Regions from separate parts of the Homo sapiens genome. Here regions 2 and 3 are each linked to region 1. The links are contacts of gene promoters, found by promoter capture Hi-C in blood cells and fetal thymus (Javierre and others, 2016). All regions are on one chromosome and are shown on one strand. The core of a region is centred on a gene start or on the middle of the fragment in contact, and the rest is flanking DNA. Distances in the headings are between cores, read along the strand shown.

What was found. Contacts are between HindIII fragments. The CHiCAGO score rates a contact against its expected background, and 5 or more counts as called.
Region 2: the fragment with the promoter of FMNL1-AS1 here is called in contact with the fragment with the promoter of GFAP in region 1 in 1 of 17 cell types (monocytes); the score reaches 5.9 in monocytes.
Region 3: a fragment that was not itself captured here is called in contact with the fragment with the promoter of GFAP in region 1 in 2 of 17 cell types (endothelial precursors and naive CD4 T cells); the score reaches 7.2 in endothelial precursors.

The regions. Positions count from the first base shown.
Region 1 is chr17:44,914,250-44,917,200 of GRCh38, reverse strand. It overlaps GFAP (glial fibrillary acidic protein), which reads left to right and starts at 1,701. Exons shown (of 9, transcript NM_002055.5): 1 at 1,701-2,175. The coding sequence starts at 1,715. The HindIII fragment of the contact is 16,653 bases long and covers 1-2,951 here.
Region 2 is chr17:45,240,520-45,243,019 of GRCh38, reverse strand. It overlaps FMNL1-AS1 (FMNL1 antisense RNA 1), which reads left to right and starts at 1,250. Exons shown (of 3, transcript NR_186808.1): 1 at 1,250-1,909; 2 at 2,416-2,500. FMNL1 (formin like 1) reads right to left here. Exons shown (of 27, transcript NM_005892.4): 12 at 2,395-2,500; 13 at 1,790-1,891; 14 at 1,386-1,638; 15 at 874-1,173; 16 at 555-679. RefSeq lists an enhancer at 1,140-1,858. The HindIII fragment of the contact is 17,531 bases long and covers 1-2,500 here.
Region 3 is chr17:45,199,271-45,202,221 of GRCh38, reverse strand. The region is part of intron 2 of FMNL1-DT (FMNL1 divergent transcript); the gene reads left to right. Among named protein-coding and RNA genes, the nearest start is that of FMNL1-DT, 21 kb to the left of the region's middle. The HindIII fragment of the contact is 4,769 bases long and covers 1-2,951 here.

The sequences.
Region 1 (2,951 bases), core at 452-2,951:
GCTGGCTCTGTGAGCTGGGGAGGAGGCAGACAGCCAGGCCTTGTCTGCAAGCAGACCTGGCAGCATTGGGCTGGCCGCCCCCCAGGGCCTCCTCTTCATGCCCAGTGAATGACTCACCTTGGCACAGACACAATGTTCGGGGTGGGCACAGTGCCTGCTTCCCGCCGCACCCCAGCCCCCCTCAAATGCCTTCCGAGAAGCCCATTGAGCAGGGGGCTTGCATTGCACCCCAGCCTGACAGCCTGGCATCTTGGGATAAAAGCAGCACAGCCCCCTAGGGGCTGCCCTTGCTGTGTGGCGCCACCGGCGGTGGAGAACAAGGCTCTATTCAGCCTGTGCCCAGGAAAGGGGATCAGGGGATGCCCAGGCATGGACAGTGGGTGGCAGGGGGGGAGAGGAGGGCTGTCTGCTTCCCAGAAGTCCAAGGACACAAATGGGTGAGGGGACTGGGCAGGGTTCTGACCCTGTGGGACCAGAGTGGAGGGCGTAGATGGACCTGAAGTCTCCAGGGACAACAGGGCCCAGGTCTCAGGCTCCTAGTTGGGCCCAGTGGCTCCAGCGTTTCCAAACCCATCCATCCCCAGAGGTTCTTCCCATCTCTCCAGGCTGATGTGTGGGAACTCGAGGAAATAAATCTCCAGTGGGAGACGGAGGGGTGGCCAGGGAAACGGGGCGCTGCAGGAATAAAGACGAGCCAGCACAGCCAGCTCATGTGTAACGGCTTTGTGGAGCTGTCAAGGCCTGGTCTCTGGGAGAGAGGCACAGGGAGGCCAGACAAGGAAGGGGTGACCTGGAGGGACAGATCCAGGGGCTAAAGTCCTGATAAGGCAAGAGAGTGCCGGCCCCCTCTTGCCCTATCAGGACCTCCACTGCCACATAGAGGCCATGATTGACCCTTAGACAAAGGGCTGGTGTCCAATCCCAGCCCCCAGCCCCAGAACTCCAGGGAATGAATGGGCAGAGAGCAGGAATGTGGGACATCTGTGTTCAAGGGAAGGACTCCAGGAGTCTGCTGGGAATGAGGCCTAGTAGGAAATGAGGTGGCCCTTGAGGGTACAGAACAGGTTCATTCTTCGCCAAATTCCCAGCACCTTGCAGGCACTTACAGCTGAGTGAGATAATGCCTGGGTTATGAAATCAAAAAGTTGGAAAGCAGGTCAGAGGTCATCTGGTACAGCCCTTCCTTCCCTTTTTTTTTTTTTTTTTTGTGAGACAAGGTCTCTCTCTGTTGCCCAGGCTGGAGTGGCGCAAACACAGCTCACTGCAGCCTCAACCTACTGGGCTCAAGCAATCCTCCAGCCTCAGCCTCCCAAAGTGCTGGGATTACAAGCATGAGCCACCCCACTCAGCCCTTTCCTTCCTTTTTAATTGATGCATAATAATTGTAAGTATTCATCATGGTCCAACCAACCCTTTCTTGACCCACCTTCCTAGAGAGAGGGTCCTCTTGCTTCAGCGGTCAGGGCCCCAGACCCATGGTCTGGCTCCAGGTACCACCTGCCTCATGCAGGAGTTGGCGTGCCCAGGAAGCTCTGCCTCTGGGCACAGTGACCTCAGTGGGGTGAGGGGAGCTCTCCCCATAGCTGGGCTGCGGCCCAACCCCACCCCCTCAGGCTATGCCAGGGGGTGTTGCCAGGGGCACCCGGGCATCGCCAGTCTAGCCCACTCCTTCATAAAGCCCTCGCATCCCAGGAGCGAGCAGAGCCAGAGCAGGATGGAGAGGAGACGCATCACCTCCGCTGCTCGCCGCTCCTACGTCTCCTCAGGGGAGATGATGGTGGGGGGCCTGGCTCCTGGCCGCCGTCTGGGTCCTGGCACCCGCCTCTCCCTGGCTCGAATGCCCCCTCCACTCCCGACCCGGGTGGATTTCTCCCTGGCTGGGGCACTCAATGCTGGCTTCAAGGAGACCCGGGCCAGTGAGCGGGCAGAGATGATGGAGCTCAATGACCGCTTTGCCAGCTACATCGAGAAGGTTCGCTTCCTGGAACAGCAAAACAAGGCGCTGGCTGCTGAGCTGAACCAGCTGCGGGCCAAGGAGCCCACCAAGCTGGCAGACGTCTACCAGGCTGAGCTGCGAGAGCTGCGGCTGCGGCTCGATCAACTCACCGCCAACAGCGCCCGGCTGGAGGTTGAGAGGGACAATCTGGCACAGGACCTGGCCACTGTGAGGCAGAAGTGAGGAGGGGATGGGGAAGGGGGGCCTTGTGAGCAGAAGGGGCTGAATCCCCAAGAAGGAGTGCCCGAGAAGTCTCAGGGAGGGGCCGAACCTCCCTGCTCCCTGGGCCTCCCTACCTCTTGATGGGGCACTATCCTTGCCCCCCAACATGATGGGAGGGACCAGAAACAGGCCCAGGGCCCCGGGGATCTGATGCCCGCATGCCTTCTGCCAGGAGTCCAGGGTCCCCTCAGCACCTCCCTACTGGGGAAAGCAGTGCAGGAGCAGCGGGGCCCCTGTGTTTCATTCATGGCTGGGCTTTGTGACTGTGGGCAGCGAGCTCACCTATTCTGAGCCTGTGTCCATATAAAGGAGGAGTTGGAAGCGGAGAAGGTTGATGTCCATGAGGGAGATTGGATTCTGGGGTGAAGAAAGTGAGGGAAAGAGCAGGCAGGTCTGGGCGCAAAGCACAGGTGACTGCCTGCCACCAGCTTGTGACCCCCATCAAGTTACTTTGACTTGCACAGCTGTGAAGCGGTGGTCATAATAAAATTCATTTCAAAAGGTGGTTACCTGGGATCAGAGGAATCCCCAGGGGCATGGCGCTTCACTGAGCTGACAGGACATGCATGTGTGCCTTCAAGTGCAGGAGGACATGTGCGTGTGTGTGTGTGTGTGTGCAACAGTGAGTGTATGCTTGTGGATGCGCCTGTGTGAGCAGAAGCAGGTGCACCAACCCTGATAAGGCACCTTAGTAATGAGTTAAGGCAAAAGCCCACATCTGCTCATCCTCCAG
Region 2 (2,500 bases), core at 1-2,500, 330 kb before region 1:
GGCCACCAGCAGAGAACCAGTAACCCAGCCTGACCACAGGCCCTGATGGGAGGCACAGGGGAAGCACAGGGAGCCTGGAGGAGGAGGGCCGCCTAACCCGGGGGATCCAGACTTGGGGCCACAAGAGCTAAAGGAAGAGCTGAACTGGCCAGCGGTAAAAAGGAGAAAGGAAAAGACATTCCAGGCAGAGGAAACAGAATGGAACAATGGCCTAGAGGCAAGAGAATACATCCTTTTGGAAAACTGGAAGTGGAATCAGGAGGGCTGAAGCCTTGGCTGCCTGTGGGAAAGTGGAAGGAAAGAGGCCTGGAGGCAGAAGAAGTGGGGTGAGGGGAGGCACCCCTCTGCAGGGATGGAGGGGAAGGCGTTTGGGAAAGCAGGATTCTGCCTGTTAGAGGTATTGGTCCAGTCTGGCTTAATGCCCATCCCTGGGCCTCCCCCTCCTCATCTGTGAAATGGCTTGGAGAAAATGACTACCCCCAGGGCCCAGCCTGATCCAGGCAACTCCCCTCTTCCTCCGGTGCCCACATGGGGAGCCAGGCAGGGCCACTCACCTGCAGCACCTTCTCATCATTGAGCTCTGTGAAGACAGTGCCGGTGATCTGGCTGGGTTTCAGTGCCACCCAGTTCAAGAGTGGCATTCGGAACTTAGTCTGGATGGGCTTCTTGGCCTTCACTCCTGGGACGGGGGTTTGGGGGCAGTGGTGAGCACTGGGGGTACTACTGGAGGGAACCTGGGCCCAGGGAGGGCTGATGGGGCAGCCAGGAGGCAGCAGGAGGCCCCCAGGCAGAGGACCCTGGAGGACACTGAGGCCCAGGCCCCTCCCTCCATCTCCCCCCAGCCCCGGGCCCAAGGTGGTCCACTCCACTCACCTGGGCCCAATTCTGAGTCGCGTCTTCCTAGGGCATCAGGAGGACCTCCGGGAGGCGGCGGCGGCGGCGGCGGCGGCGGAGGCACCGGCCCGTCAGTGCCCGGAGGTGGTGGCGGTGGCGGGGGTGGGGGCGGCAGGTCTCCGGGCAGCGGCGGCGCAGGCGGGGGCTCCGGGCTGCCAGGGAGAGGCGGGGCCTGTGGGGGCGCAGAGGGCGGGGCTTCCTGCGGGGAGGGGAGGCCGGGCAGTGGGGGCGGCGGCGGTGGCGCTGCTCCGGGAGCCGGCTCTGCTGCAGGTGCGAGATCTGAGCCAGCGAGGGCGCGGCGTGGGGGAGGCGCGAGTCAGCTCCTTGACTTGGGTGGGCCCCTCTCCGCCTCTCCGCTCTACGCATGCGCTCCTACCTGAGCCGAGCCTACAATCCAAACCTCCCTCGCCCAACTCTGCCCGCCACAGATGCCCCTGGGCTCCCCTCCAGACCCTGCCCCGCATCCCCGCCAGCCTGAAGCTCCTGCGCACCTGGGCTGGGGGAGCCGGTCGGCACCCCCGGAGTCGGAGCATCACCGCCGCTCGGAGTTGCCACAGCGACGGGGAGGATCTCGATGGAGACAGCATCCCCCGGCCCCCGCAGAATACGGATTAACCCCTTCTCCTCCAGCTCCTCCACCTTCAGCTCCAGGGCCGAGGGCCGCGTCGGGGCAGCGGGAGGCGCTTTCTCAGGCTCTGGGGGACGCCTGGAGGGCCCCATGGCGGTCGATTCGCTGAAGCGCTCCTACGAACCCCACGGGAGGGGTCAGTGCCCACCAGCAGGCTCCTTGGCACCAAGCCTCCATCTTCTTCCCGGGGTGGAGGGAGATGTCAAGCCTAGAAGCCTCAGCTGGCCTGTTCTTGGGCGCCTGGCCTACCACCCGCCCCAGCCTCACCCGCAGGGTCTCCAACTCCTTGCGCGCCTGGCTTAGCTGTTTTTCCAGTTCTGCAATCTTGGCCATGGATTCGTTCTCCGCGTCCCGAAGCCGCTCTGTCAGCTGTAGCACCAGCACATGGTGAGCCCCGACCCGCAGCCCGGCACTGGCACCGCCGGTGAGGGGGCGGCATCAGGCATGCCTGCCTGGAAGACTGGGGGAGGCTCCCAGATCCGCTCAGCCCAGGTGCCAAGGGTGGGCCGAGCCTGGCACTCGAACCCAAGCAAATAAGGAGAGGAAACCAAGGTACCAGTGATGCGGGAGGTGGAGGGAGAGGAGGAGACTGAGCTGGGAGGGGCCCCAGGCACCCATTTCAGTTCACCTGGGGTCTGAGCCTGGGTAGAGGAGGGGCCTGTCAGTGAGGGTGCTCACCCACACTCATTGAGAAAGACACCCAACAGATTCAGGCTTTGGATTCAGGCCAGGCTCTGGGGCCAGGCAGGCAGCACCTCCAATGCACAATTATAACACTGTCTGCTGCCCAGTGCCCATGCTTGCGTGGCCCTGTGGCCCGTGTGCCCTGTGGGCCTATGATGTGCTGGGCTGGGGTCAGGACCCACTCTCACCAGCGCCACTTGCTCCTGCAGTTCCTCCATGTGCTCCAGCACAGCGTTCTTGGTCTCTGTGTCCTCCAGCAGCGCCCCCACATCAAAAATATTGTCCAGGTACGCC
Region 3 (2,951 bases), core at 295-2,794, 290 kb before region 1:
GGACAGCCAGTTTCCAAAGCTCTCCCTCCCAACAGCCAGCCAACATGTAGGTCCCTGTGATGAAAGCCAAGAGCAAGGCCAAGCCTTAGGCAAGCCCTGAACCTCTTTGCTCATTATTGCATAACTTTTTTTTTTTTTTCGAGACAGAGTCTCATTGTGTCACCCAGGCTGGAATGCAATGACCCAATCTCGGCTCACTGCAACCTCCGCCTCCCAGGTTCAAATGATTCTCCTACCTCAGTCTCCCAAGTAGCTGGAATTACAGGCATGCGCCACCACACCGAGCTAATTTTTGTATTTTTAGTAGAGACTGGGTTTTGCCATGTTGACCAGGCTGGTCTTGAACTCCTGACCTCAAGTAATCCTCCCGCCTCAGCCTCCCAAAGTGCTGGGATTATAGGCATGAGCCACTGCGCCTGGCCATTATTCCATAAATATTGATGGAGGGCCAACTGCATGCCCAGTGCCGAGGGATAGAGAAGAATTAGACCCCAACCTGCCTAAAAAGAGCTCACGGCCTGGGAAAGGAGTATGAGGGGAGGTCTGTTTGCCCTAGGGGCTGCTGAGGAAGAAACACTAAGCCCAGATCCATTCCTGACATAATTCTGCCTGGACATCCACTGAGTCAGGGTCAGAGACTCAGGGCTGCCCTCCTGGGTTGTTGAAGGAGAGGCAAAGTTGAAACCACTAGAAGGTGGGGCTCCTCCAGGGGAAAGACCAATTCCAGGCACCCCATCTGAGGACAAAAGCTGAGAGAACATCTTCACTGGGGTGTGGGGAGTATACAAGAAATACCAGGACCAGGCCGGGTGTGGTGGCTCATGCCTGTAATCCCAGCACTTTGGGAGGCCAAGGCGGCTAGATCAGCTGAGGTCAGGAGTTCTGGAGACCAGCCTGGCCAACATGGTGAAACTCTGTCTCTACTAAAAATACAATAATAAGCTGGGCGTGGTGGTGGGCGCCTGTAATCCCAGCTACCTGGGAGGCTCAGGCAAGAGGATCACTTGAATCCGGGAGGCGGAGGTCACGGTGAGCCGAGATCATGCCACTGCACTCCAGCCTGGGCAATAGAGTGAGACTCAGTCTCAAAAAAAAAAAAAAAAAAGAAAGAAAAGAAAAGAAAAAAAGACCAGGACCTGCAGAATTTTCCTGACAAGCCACCACCTGCAAAGCTGGCTCCACAGTGGATCCACCTCTGTACCTCCCAGAGCAGCCGGCATTCTGTCATTTTTGTTGAAGGAAATGGGCAGAGACTGGGACAGCCAAGCGCGGCCTTCTGTGGTTTTAGGGAGAAGGGCGGGTGAGCCAGTCCGTTGCCCTGAGAAGAGGTCAAGAGGATGAAGACTATGAAAGCGACTGAGTTGGGCAATTAGGGGTCCCTAGTGGCCTTCAAAAAGAATGCTTTCAACAGCAGCTGCTGAAATTTCAAGGGCAAGTTCGGTAGCGGGAGGGGAAGAGGGAGAGAGAGAATGCAGAGCCTAAGCCAGCCATCAGCAGAGTGAAGACACACGCATAATTCATGATGTCCTTCTTAACTTGTTTTGAAAATCTGATTTTTTTGACAGACAACTCAGGGGTTAATCAACCTCAGAGGTTCAGAAGTTCCATGAATCCCTTAAAGTGGAGAGAACTCCACCCAAACAATATAATATTGCTTATATTTGCACCAGGGAGACATAGCCTGAATCTATCCATAAGGAAATACCAGACAAACCTCAAATAAGGTGCATTCGATTAAAAGGAAAAATGTGTGGGGGAGTCCTACTCTGAAAAAATGTCATGAAAGATGAAAAAGATGAGGAATTGCCCCAGATTAAAGAAGCCTAGGCCAGCATGGTGGCTCACACCTGTAATCCCAACACTTTGGGAGGCTGAGATGGGCAGATGGCCTGAAGCCAGAAATTCGAGACCAGCCTGGCCAATATGCCAAAACCCCATCTCTACTAAAAGTACAAAAATTAGCTGGGTGTGGTGGCGTGCACCTGTAATCCCAGCTACTCAGGTGGCTGAGGCAGGAGAATCACTTGAACCCAGTTGAGCCGATATCGCACCACTGCACTCCAGCCTGGGCAATAAGAGCAAAACTCAGTCTCAAAAAATAAAAATAAATAAAAAATAAAGAAGCCTAAATATCTGGGTGTGGTGGCTCATGCCTGAAATCCCAGCAAGCACTTTGGGGGCTGAGGCAGGAGGATTGCTTGAGCCCAGGAGTTCAAGACCAGCCTGAGCAACATAGGGAGACCCCTGTCTCTACAAAAAATAGAAAAATGGCTGGGCGTGGTGGCTCATGCCTGTAATCTCAGTATTTTGGGAGGCCGAGGTGGGCAGATCACGAGGTCAGGAGATCGAGACCATCATGGCCAACACGATGAAACCCCATCTCTACTAAAAATACAAAAATTAGCTGGGCATGGTGGCAAGTGCCTGTAATCCCAGCTACTCCAGAGGTTGAGGCAGGAGAATTGCTTGAACCCAAGAGGCGGAGGTTGCAGTGAGCCAAGATCGCGCCACTGCACTCCAGCCTGGCGACAGAGCAAGAGTCCGTCTCAAAAAAAAAAAAAAGAAGAAGAAGAAGAAAAATGGCCGGACACAGTGGTTCACGCCTGTAATCCCAGCACTTTGGGAGGCCGAGGTGGGTAGATCAGCCTGGGCAACATAGTGAGACCTCATTTCTTTTTTTTCTTTTTCTTTTTTTTTTTTTTTGAGACGGAATCACGCTCTGTCACCCAGGCTGGAGTTCAGTTGCGTGATCTCAGCTCACTGCAAGCTCCACCTCCCGGGTTCATGCTATTCTCCTGCCTCAGCCTTCCGAGTAGCTAGGACTACAGGCGCCTGCCTAATTTTTTGTATTTTTAGTGGAGACGGGGTTTCACTGTGTTAGCCAGGATGGTCTCGATCTTCTGACCTCGTGATCTGCCTGCCTCGGCCTCCCACAGTGCTGGGATTACAGG